Regions from separate parts of the Homo sapiens genome. Here region 1 is linked to region 2. Evidence: promoter capture Hi-C in 16 types of primary human blood cells and fetal thymus (Javierre and others, 2016). All regions are on one chromosome and are shown on one strand. Each heading gives the region's core, a stretch centred on a gene start or on the middle of the fragment in contact. The rest is flanking DNA. Distances are from core to core; before and after follow the strand shown.

Region 1 (4,520 bases), core at 310-2,809, 320 kb after region 2:
CTCGCCTGGGCTCTTGCCTTCAGCTTGAGATATCTGCAGCCGCGAACCTTGCTCCAGCCCAGAAAGGGGCGCTTTGCTCAATTAATTGTTCCCGCCGGCGAGTCCGTACTGAGAAGCCCATGAGCGGACCTTATGTGCAGGGTACTCCAGCGCGGTGCACAAAACTCGTCGCCCCCAAACGCTGCCCCCACCCCAACACTGTGTACTGACTCCAGCTTTTTACTTTGCCATGTAAGGGATGGACCTGAAACGGTTATTTTACCTCAATTCATTTCAAAAAGGAAACAAGTATGGCATTGCAAAAGATGGGCTTCTTATCCAAGGCGACTTCCTTTCTGGTTCACCAACTTTGCTGCTTCCAGTTTGCCAGGATCTACATTAACACCCTCTTTGGGGCTCTTCGTTTTAACTTACAGACAGAAATGCTTAAAATGTTAGCGTATCCAAGCATTTGGAATTGGGGCTCACGAAGCCTAATTGTCCACTGGATGCCCTAGATAGTGGGGGCTGGGGCGGGGGGGGTCTCAGAGCGGGCAGCCCCTATGTCTAGGCGCTATCAAATTCCCACTTCACTCTCTTACAAGCTGGCCTTTCAAGGTCACAATGCGGAGCCTAATTTGGGGGTGGGGATGAAATGGCCACAGGGTCTCTCCCTTGGGTTGGCATTGCCAGCTGTTAGGGCCGCAGCAAAGGCGCTGCGCTGCCCCCCTCTGGCTCTGCTGCCTTTCCCATGGACTGGGTTTCCTTCCACCGAAGAGTGAACTTCTGCCTCTTTCGAGCACCTTCCGAGGCGTAGTCCTTTGGATGTTGGGGAGCGTCAGACTGGGTCGTTGTAGAGGGGAAAGGAGGGCCCAGAAGGGCGAGAGAGCAGGCCGGGACGCAAATCCTCAGCCCCCGCGGCGCGGCCACGTCTTCAGAAACGCCCAGGACCTCCGGGCTGGGCCGCCGCGGTTTGGCCTTTGGAACTCCAAGGGGTTCGTCTACCTGACCATTGGGTGGGCTCCGCGGTTGACACTTTTCTTGGCATGCCCCCCCACCCCGCGCCACACCACCCCCCCAGCCCCAGCAATCCCAAATCGGCCCCACGGACCTAGAGGGCTCTTGGGCGAGATGAGACATCACCCACTGTGTAGAAGCTGTTGCCATTGCTGCTGTCACAGCCACTCCGGATGGGGCTGCCACCGCGGCCAGGACAGTCTCCTCCGACCGCTTCCTGGGCTGCGCTAGGGTTCGGGGGCGCTGCCCGCACGCTCCGGCGGGGAAGGAAATCGCCCCGCGCCCGCCGGAGGAAGGCGACGGGGAGGGAAGGGGGAGGGCGGCTAGGAGGCGGGTGGAGGGGCCGGCCGCCCGGGCCAGGTCGTTTTTGAATGGTTTGGGAGGACGAATTGTTAGACCCCGAGGAAGGGAGGTGGGACGGGGGAGGGGGACTGGAAAGCGGAAACTTTCCTATAAAACTTCGAAAAGTCCCTCCTCCTCACGTCAGGCCAATGACACTGCTGCCCCCAAACTTTCCGCCTGCACGGAGGTATAAGAGCCTCCAAGTCTGCAGCTCTCGCCCAACTCCCAGACACCTCGCGGGCTCTGCAGCACCGGCACCGTTTCCAGGAGGCCTGGCGGGGTGTGCGTCCAGCCGTTGGGCGCTTTCTTTTTGGACCTCGGGGCCATCCACACCGTCCCCTCCCCCTCCCGCCTCCCTCCCCGCCTCCCCCGCGCGCCCTCCCCGCGGAGGTCCCTCCCGTCCGTCCTCCTGCTCTCTCCTCCGCGGGCCGCATCGCCCGGGCCGGCGCCGCGCGCGGGGGAAGCTGGCGGGCTGAGGCGCCCCGCTCTTCTCCTCTGCCCCGGGCCCGCGAGGCCACGCGTCGCCGCTCGAGAGATGATGCAGGACGTGTCCAGCTCGCCAGTCTCGCCGGCCGACGACAGCCTGAGCAACAGCGAGGAAGAGCCAGACCGGCAGCAGCCGCCGAGCGGCAAGCGCGGGGGACGCAAGCGGCGCAGCAGCAGGCGCAGCGCGGGCGGCGGCGCGGGGCCCGGCGGAGCCGCGGGTGGGGGCGTCGGAGGCGGCGACGAGCCGGGCAGCCCGGCCCAGGGCAAGCGCGGCAAGAAGTCTGCGGGCTGTGGCGGCGGCGGCGGCGCGGGCGGCGGCGGCGGCAGCAGCAGCGGCGGCGGGAGTCCGCAGTCTTACGAGGAGCTGCAGACGCAGCGGGTCATGGCCAACGTGCGGGAGCGCCAGCGCACCCAGTCGCTGAACGAGGCGTTCGCCGCGCTGCGGAAGATCATCCCCACGCTGCCCTCGGACAAGCTGAGCAAGATTCAGACCCTCAAGCTGGCGGCCAGGTACATCGACTTCCTCTACCAGGTCCTCCAGAGCGACGAGCTGGACTCCAAGATGGCAAGCTGCAGCTATGTGGCTCACGAGCGGCTCAGCTACGCCTTCTCGGTCTGGAGGATGGAGGGGGCCTGGTCCATGTCCGCGTCCCACTAGCAGGCGGAGCCCCCCACCCCCTCAGCAGGGCCGGAGACCTAGGTAAGGACCGCGCCGCTGCACCCCTTCGCCTCTCAGGTGGCAGACGGCAGGCCGGCCAGGCCGCGGTTCCCAGTCCACCTCGATTTCCTCCCCTCTCCCACTCTCCGCTCAGCCTTCCCACCTCACTTGGCACCGTTGCCTCGCGCCCCCAGCGTCCCCGGAAGGCCGGTCTGACCCCGCTAGGGAGAGCAGTCTCCAGGGGGATGCGCCCTGGTGAGGGGTGTGTGTGCGCGTGAGTGTGCGTGACAGGAGGGGAGACAGAGACACCCAGGGTCACGGGTAAGGACCGTTTTGTCAGCGCCACCCTTTCTTTCGGCTTTCAATTTTTGTTCTCCTTAAAACAAATGTTTTAAAACAAATTCCACCTCCTCCTCCTTTCCACCCACCCACTTCCTCTTGCCCTTGGGCTGAAATCCTTCCAGGTTGTTCAGCTTAATTTCTCAGTGGTGGTGATAAGAACAGTGCTCACTAGTCTTAGAAAACAGCCGCAGAGACCTAAACAATAACCGACTCCCCCCCCCCCCTCTGGGTTTTTGCAGATGTCATTGTTTCCAGAGAAGGAGAAAATGGACAGTCTAGAGACTCTGGAGCTGGATAACTAAAAATAAAAATATATGCCAAAGATTTTCTTGGAAATTAGAAGAGCAAAATCCAAATTCAAAGAAACAGGGCGTGGGGCGCACTTTTAAAAGAGAAAGCGAGACAGGCCCGTGGACAGTGATTCCCAGACGGGCAGCGGCACCATCCTCACACCTCTGCATTCTGATAGAAGTCTGAACAGTTGTTTGTGTTTTTTTTTTTTTTTTTTTTGACGAAGAATGTTTTTATTTTTATTTTTTTCATGCATGCATTCTCAAGAGGTCGTGCCAATCAGCCACTGAAAGGAAAGGCATCACTATGGACTTTCTCTATTTTAAAATGGTAACAATCAGAGGAACTATAAGAACACCTTTAGAAATAAAAATACTGGGATCAAACTGGCCTGCAAAACCATAGTCAGTTAATTCTTTTTTTCATCCTTCCTCTGAGGGGAAAAACAAAAAAAAACTTAAAATACAAAAAACAACATTCTATTTATTTATTGAGGACCCATGGTAAAATGCAAATAGATCCGGTGTCTAAATGCATTCATATTTTTATGATTGTTTTGTAAATATCTTTGTATATTTTTCTGCAATAAATAAATATAAAAAATTTAGAGAACCTTAGAGTTTGGTCTATATTTTTAAAACTAAAGATTAAGTTGGTGGTAAATACCTGCTTGTTTAATTCTAGAGGCACCCAGGAGGGAGGGGGCACTAATATAAACAAAGCAATGAAAAACTCAAATAAAGCAGCTACTGACAGGCACAAGCATGTTATTTTAAAAGACAGCTTTATTATTATTCCAGTTTGGTATTCAGAGGGCTTAGTAGCATCTCTTCATCTCTTACTGTCTCCAAACAGCAAAAACTTAACAAATTTGCTATTCACCTCCTTTTTATTTTGAGGTGATAGTTGTTAAAACAGTTAAATGCAAATAAGGAGTATAAAACCTGCACTATTCTCTTATTATGTACTTTTTGTCATGCTCTTCACTCTTTGTGAAGATTCCTAAATAACAGGTTCTTTTCAGTGAAAACATATATAGTGTTATGAAAATTATCTATACACATATAGAAATGACCAGAAATGCATAGAAAATAAAGTGTAAATCAGCAGAAAAGAGAAAATTCCATTTGTAATTTGCTTAACTCTTCTCTCATGAATGAATATGACGTTTAGTGTCATGTTTGCTAAAAAGAAAAGTTAATATATCGCTATATTGACGCTATTTGGGAAGCATCATTCTTTTTTTATGTGTAAAGAATATAAGGCTGTGGAATAATATACAAAAATGAAGATCCTGAACTTTCAGTATCCTTGGTAACTGGATATAATCACAGTTGGAATAATCACAGTTTTAAATACTACAGCTATGCAGTTACTAGTCAGTTCATTAGCGTTATATTTTATC
Region 2 (4,899 bases), core at 383-2,882:
TGGGCTGCAATTGAAATTACCATGTACACATGTTTCTGTCTTTTTCAGCATGTTTTATATGATTTTTATGTAATTTAAAGAGAAAAAAACAGTCAGAATGAATTAGTCTCAATCCACTATGAATAGCTGTGTATCACTAACTATAGTATTTGACCTCCCTATACACACCTGTTCCCTAATTTGTAAAGTGGGAAACACCAAACCCACCTCGCAGAGTTAATAATGAAATGATTAACAGATGTAAAGTGCTTAAAAAGACCCCTAGCAACAGAAGGCGCTAAATAAAAGTTAGCGTTTCTTCTCTCAGTTCTCTTTTTATTCTCACTCCTGCCTTCAATTACCCCCAAAGTGATTTTATATACATGACTTTGAAATCACCTGAGGAAAAGCAGTTTGGGGGAAAAAAAGGCATTTCCTTTAAAAGTACCCTCATTTTTCCCTTCCATGATCATCTTGTTCCACACTGTGAAGTTTCTTCACTACCCTTTAGGCACTTTATATTTATTAGAAGCATTAGCTTCCCTTTAATTTGTCTAATCTCTAGAACTGAATTTTAATAGCAACTTCCTTAACATGACTAGGAACTTTTAACAGGAACTGAATTTTCCTGTGAAAAAGAAACTTGGTCTTATATTTACTTCTTTTGTTCCCTAATATTCCACAAAGTCCCTTTCCAAAATAGAAACTCACTGAAGATTTATTTATTGTCTCTTCTGGTGAAGATTAAAAACTTTCAAGATTGGTGGGGCAAGGTCTTAGTGGCCCTCAACATTAGTAATTAGGAGGTGCTTATTCTAGGAATTGTGAGAACTGTAAAAACATAGTGATGTAAATAGTGAGCAATTAGTATGGTTACCAATTTTAACCAACTGCAATAGGGGAGTGTTTTGGGAAGTCAAAAGGAACCCACATGGGCTCTGATAAGAGGATAGCTTTCAAAATCATACTTCATAAGGCTAGCCTGTATGAGATTAGCTCAAGGTAGAAAAACCTCGAATGGATATCATTTAAATTACTATCTTCATAATGAGTAAAAATACCACCTTAGTCCATTCTGTGCTGCTATAAAACAACACCCAAGACTGGGTAATTTACAAAAAAACAAGAATTTATATTCTCACAGTTCAGGAGTCCGAGATCAGGGCCCTGGTAGATTCGATTCCGTTGTCTTGTGAGGGCTGTTCTCTGCTTTAAAGATGGTGCCTTACTGCCGCATTCTCTAGAAGGAAGAACACCACATCCGCAGAAGGGAAAGCTAGCTGAACCCTGCATGATGCCACTTTAATAAGGGCCTTAATTTGGGGAGGAGCCCTCATGACCTAATCGCCTCTTAAGGGCCCTACCTCTTAATACTATCACATTGGCAACACCTGAATTTCACAGCGGCCACACTCAAACCGTAGCAAATATTCTTCTTGTTGTAGGTTGCTGTTGCAGGTTGCATTCACTGGAAAGTAGACTCTGTGACAGATACTAGAATGCAGGAGGATTATTAGTGGGTTGTATTAGTCCATTTTCACACTGCTGTAAAGATACTACCTGAAACTGAGTAATTTATAAACAAAAGAAGTTTAATTGACTCACAGTTCAGCATTGCTGGGGAGGCCTCAGGAAATCATGGCAAAAGGCAAAGAGGAAGCAGGGACCTTCACATGGTAGCAGGAGAGAGAGCACAGAGGAAACTGCCATTTTAAACCATCAGATCTTGTAAGAACTCCCTCACTATCACGAGAACAGCAGGGGTAAAACTGCCTCCGTGATCTAATCACCTCCCACCAGTTCCCTCCTTTGACAACTAGAGATTTACAATTTAAGATGAGATTTGGGTGGGACACAAAGCCAAACTATATCAGGAGTCCTTTGAAATCAAAATTTAGGGAAGAAGATTTGAGAAGAGACGGGTTAGCTGTAATTCAGTCTCAATGAAGACCTCAGCTAGGAACTCTGAAGCTAAAATGACCTTCAGACTTGTCCTGAGTTAGAATAAAGACATCAGCCTTATCCCTCATGTTGATCTGTCACTGGAAACAGGGTGTCCTGGGAAGGAGACACGGCCTTAGAAGAGGTTGCTCTCTTGACCCTAAGTAATTTCTAAGGGTTTTCAGCTGAGGGCTGTCTACCAGCAGCACTCTTAGCGTTAAAGGTAGGAAGCCCATTGTTCTTGTTCTTAAGGGAGGAACTGGGTCCACCACACCTAGGAATGCTGACTCTATTTTAAATAGCATGTTAATGCCTATTTGAATAATGACCAACTTATATGGAGCAACTAGCAAGTGCCAGAACATTGTTAGGTACTGAAGTTCAAAATGAAACAAGACAGGCCGGGCACAGTGGCTCATGCCTGTAATCCCAGCACTTTGGGAGGCCGAGGTGGGCGGATCACAAGGTCAGGAGATCGAGACCATCCTGGCTAACACAGTGAAACCCCGTCTCTATTAAAAATACAAAAAAAAAAAAAAAAAATTAGCCAGGCGTGGTCGTGTATGCCTGTAGTCCCAGCTGCTGGGGAGGCTAAGGCAGGAGAATGGCGTGAACCCGGGAGGCGGAGCTTGCAGTGAGCGGAGATTGCACGACTGCACTCCAGCCTGGGCGACAGAGCGAGACTCTGTCTCAAAAAAAAAAAAAAAAAAAAGAAAAAAGAAACAAGACAGTTCTGGCTCTTGAAAACCTAGTATATGAAATTTTTAAAATATTAAATATACACTATGGGAATATTGTAATATTGTAATATATTCATCTATATGTGAGTCCACATGCCCACTTTGTGGGCCTTGTATAGACCATCTTCTAAAAACAGTTGGACAAACTAGAGCCTATGGGCCAAATCTGGCCTGCCACATATATTTACAAGTCAAGTTTTATGGGAACAATCATTTCCACTCATATATGTATTGTCTATGGCTGCTTTTTCTCTACAAGGGCAGAGTTAGGTATTTCCAAGAGAAAGCACATGGAATGCAAAGTCAAAATATTTACTATCTGGTCTTTCACAGAAAATGTTTGCTGTTTGCTCTGAGATTTATAGTAATATGATATTATGACAGGTCTACAAAGTATACATGATAGTAATCTGGGATTTATAATTTTATTTTTTAAGAATATATTGTCCACACATTGGAGAATATGTTATCTTTGATTATTAATCACATCCTACTTCCTTATTGCATAATGCTTATACCATAAAGAAATTTTCTTTTAAATATCTTTCATGTGTCCCTTTGCATCATCATCATCATCATCATAATGCAAACTAAAAAAAGAACACATTTTGAACATAACTCTAGATAAATTTAGTCAATGGCTTGAAATATGAATTAATGGTTCGATTCCACCGTGGATGAAAATATTGTGTGGTATCCCACAGTGTTTTATATGTATTATATTATTTTCAGCATTTTTATCAGGAATTTGGACTAAAACCAAAAGCATGTTTATCCAGTACGTGTATAATACAAAGCTGTGTAGCAGTAGTTACTATATTGGATGATAGAGACAGTATTCAAAAAGATTGAAAAATATTGGAAAGATGGGCCAAAACTAACAAAGTGAAATGTAACAGGGCTAATTATGAAGTTCTATATTTGGGTTAAAAAATCAAGCCACAAATGTACAAATGCAGGATGGGAGAACACATGATGAAACAGCAGTAAAAGATGACGGAGTTTTAGGGTTATAGTTAACTGAAAGCTTAATTGTGAACCAACCCTTTGATGTGGATATGAAAATCACTCATATAATCTTAGCATGTGCTTCAATATAATTATGCATTCTGTTCAGACCAAGGTGGCTAATTGCATTGCATACTGCATTGGTCAGAAGCCATCTGGAATGATGCATTCAGTTTCAGAAGCTATGTTGTAATAGAGATCTTGACAAATGTAGTGGATGTTTGACAGTTTTTTTTCCTACCATAGATATCAGATACCTGCTTTCTCAGACCCTTGGAGCTAGATGCAGGCATAAAGCTAGGGTCTAATCAGCAGCACCTGCAGTATGAGCCAGAGATGCAAAGTAGCAGAGAATACTTGGAATTCATTCTAGTGAGGATAAAATCAGGGCTATAGATCCAATTTCTCGAAGCACTGGAGTTAAGTCAAGCACTGAATGTTGTCGGCAGTGAAAGTCATTGTGTTTGTGGAGAAGTGATGTCTTCTAGATCAGTTCTGAGTGTAATTTTATACACTGTTTCTGGCTATATATAAGGCATTATAAGGGATGGTAATCCAGACGACCTCCAGGGGCTTTCTCAACTCTAAATTTCTCGATTTGCTGTTTTTAAATGGCTTACTCTTTACAGCCTGAGAAATGTATGGGAGTATACACAGAAAGGTTATAATGCCAAGAACAAAGAAAAAATTAATGAAAGTGGATTAGGGAAGGGAAGTGGCTACAGCCTGCCTCTGTTAAATGGCTGATATCAAGTCCTTATTCTATAAGAGAAAATAAATTCAGGTTCTTAAATAGCTTGCTAATAAAATATTTCATAGGAAAGACCATGTATTATAAGCAATAGAGAGACAGGATGATTCGGCATTAAAAAAACCAAGTATATAACGTAGAAGCAGTGGCGTTTATGCTATTTGTATCATAAAATGTAATATGCCTGATGAAATTCCCTATAGAATATAAGTGGAAAATGTGCTTGTTTGAATTTTTTTCCATTTTATTTGCGCTTAATATTTATATTTTATTACTCTGTTCTATTACCCATAGTGCATTACCTGGTATTCTTTCCCTATGCAATCAATGGTTTCTGAATGGCAGAGTGCATTATGAAGAGAACATGGGCTTTGGAGTCAGGCTAGGACTGAGTTCAAGTCCCAGGCCTTCGTAACTAAGTCTATGATTGTGACTTTTGGAAATTTACTCTAGCATCCTGGGCCTGTATTTTCTGATCTG

Evidence for each region. Contacts are between HindIII fragments. The CHiCAGO score rates a contact against its expected background, and 5 or more counts as called.
Region 1: the fragment with the promoter of TWIST1 here is called in contact with a fragment that was not itself captured in region 2 in 4 of 17 cell types (megakaryocytes, M0 macrophages, M2 macrophages and 1 more); the score reaches 9.1 in megakaryocytes.

The regions. Positions count from the first base shown.
Region 1 is chr7:19,114,675-19,119,194 of GRCh38, reverse strand. It overlaps TWIST1 (twist family bHLH transcription factor 1), which reads left to right and starts at 1,559. Exons shown (of 2, transcript NM_000474.4): 1 at 1,559-2,524; 2 at 3,064-3,727. The coding sequence starts at 1,874. The coding sequence ends at 2,482. RefSeq lists enhancers at 1-412, 1,486-2,269, 2,293-2,552. The HindIII fragment of the contact is 6,123 bases long and covers 1-4,520 here.
Region 2 is chr7:19,436,529-19,441,427 of GRCh38, reverse strand. No RefSeq gene overlaps it. Among named protein-coding and RNA genes, the nearest start is that of MIR3146, 270 kb to the left of the region's middle. The HindIII fragment of the contact is 4,114 bases long and covers 1-3,689 here.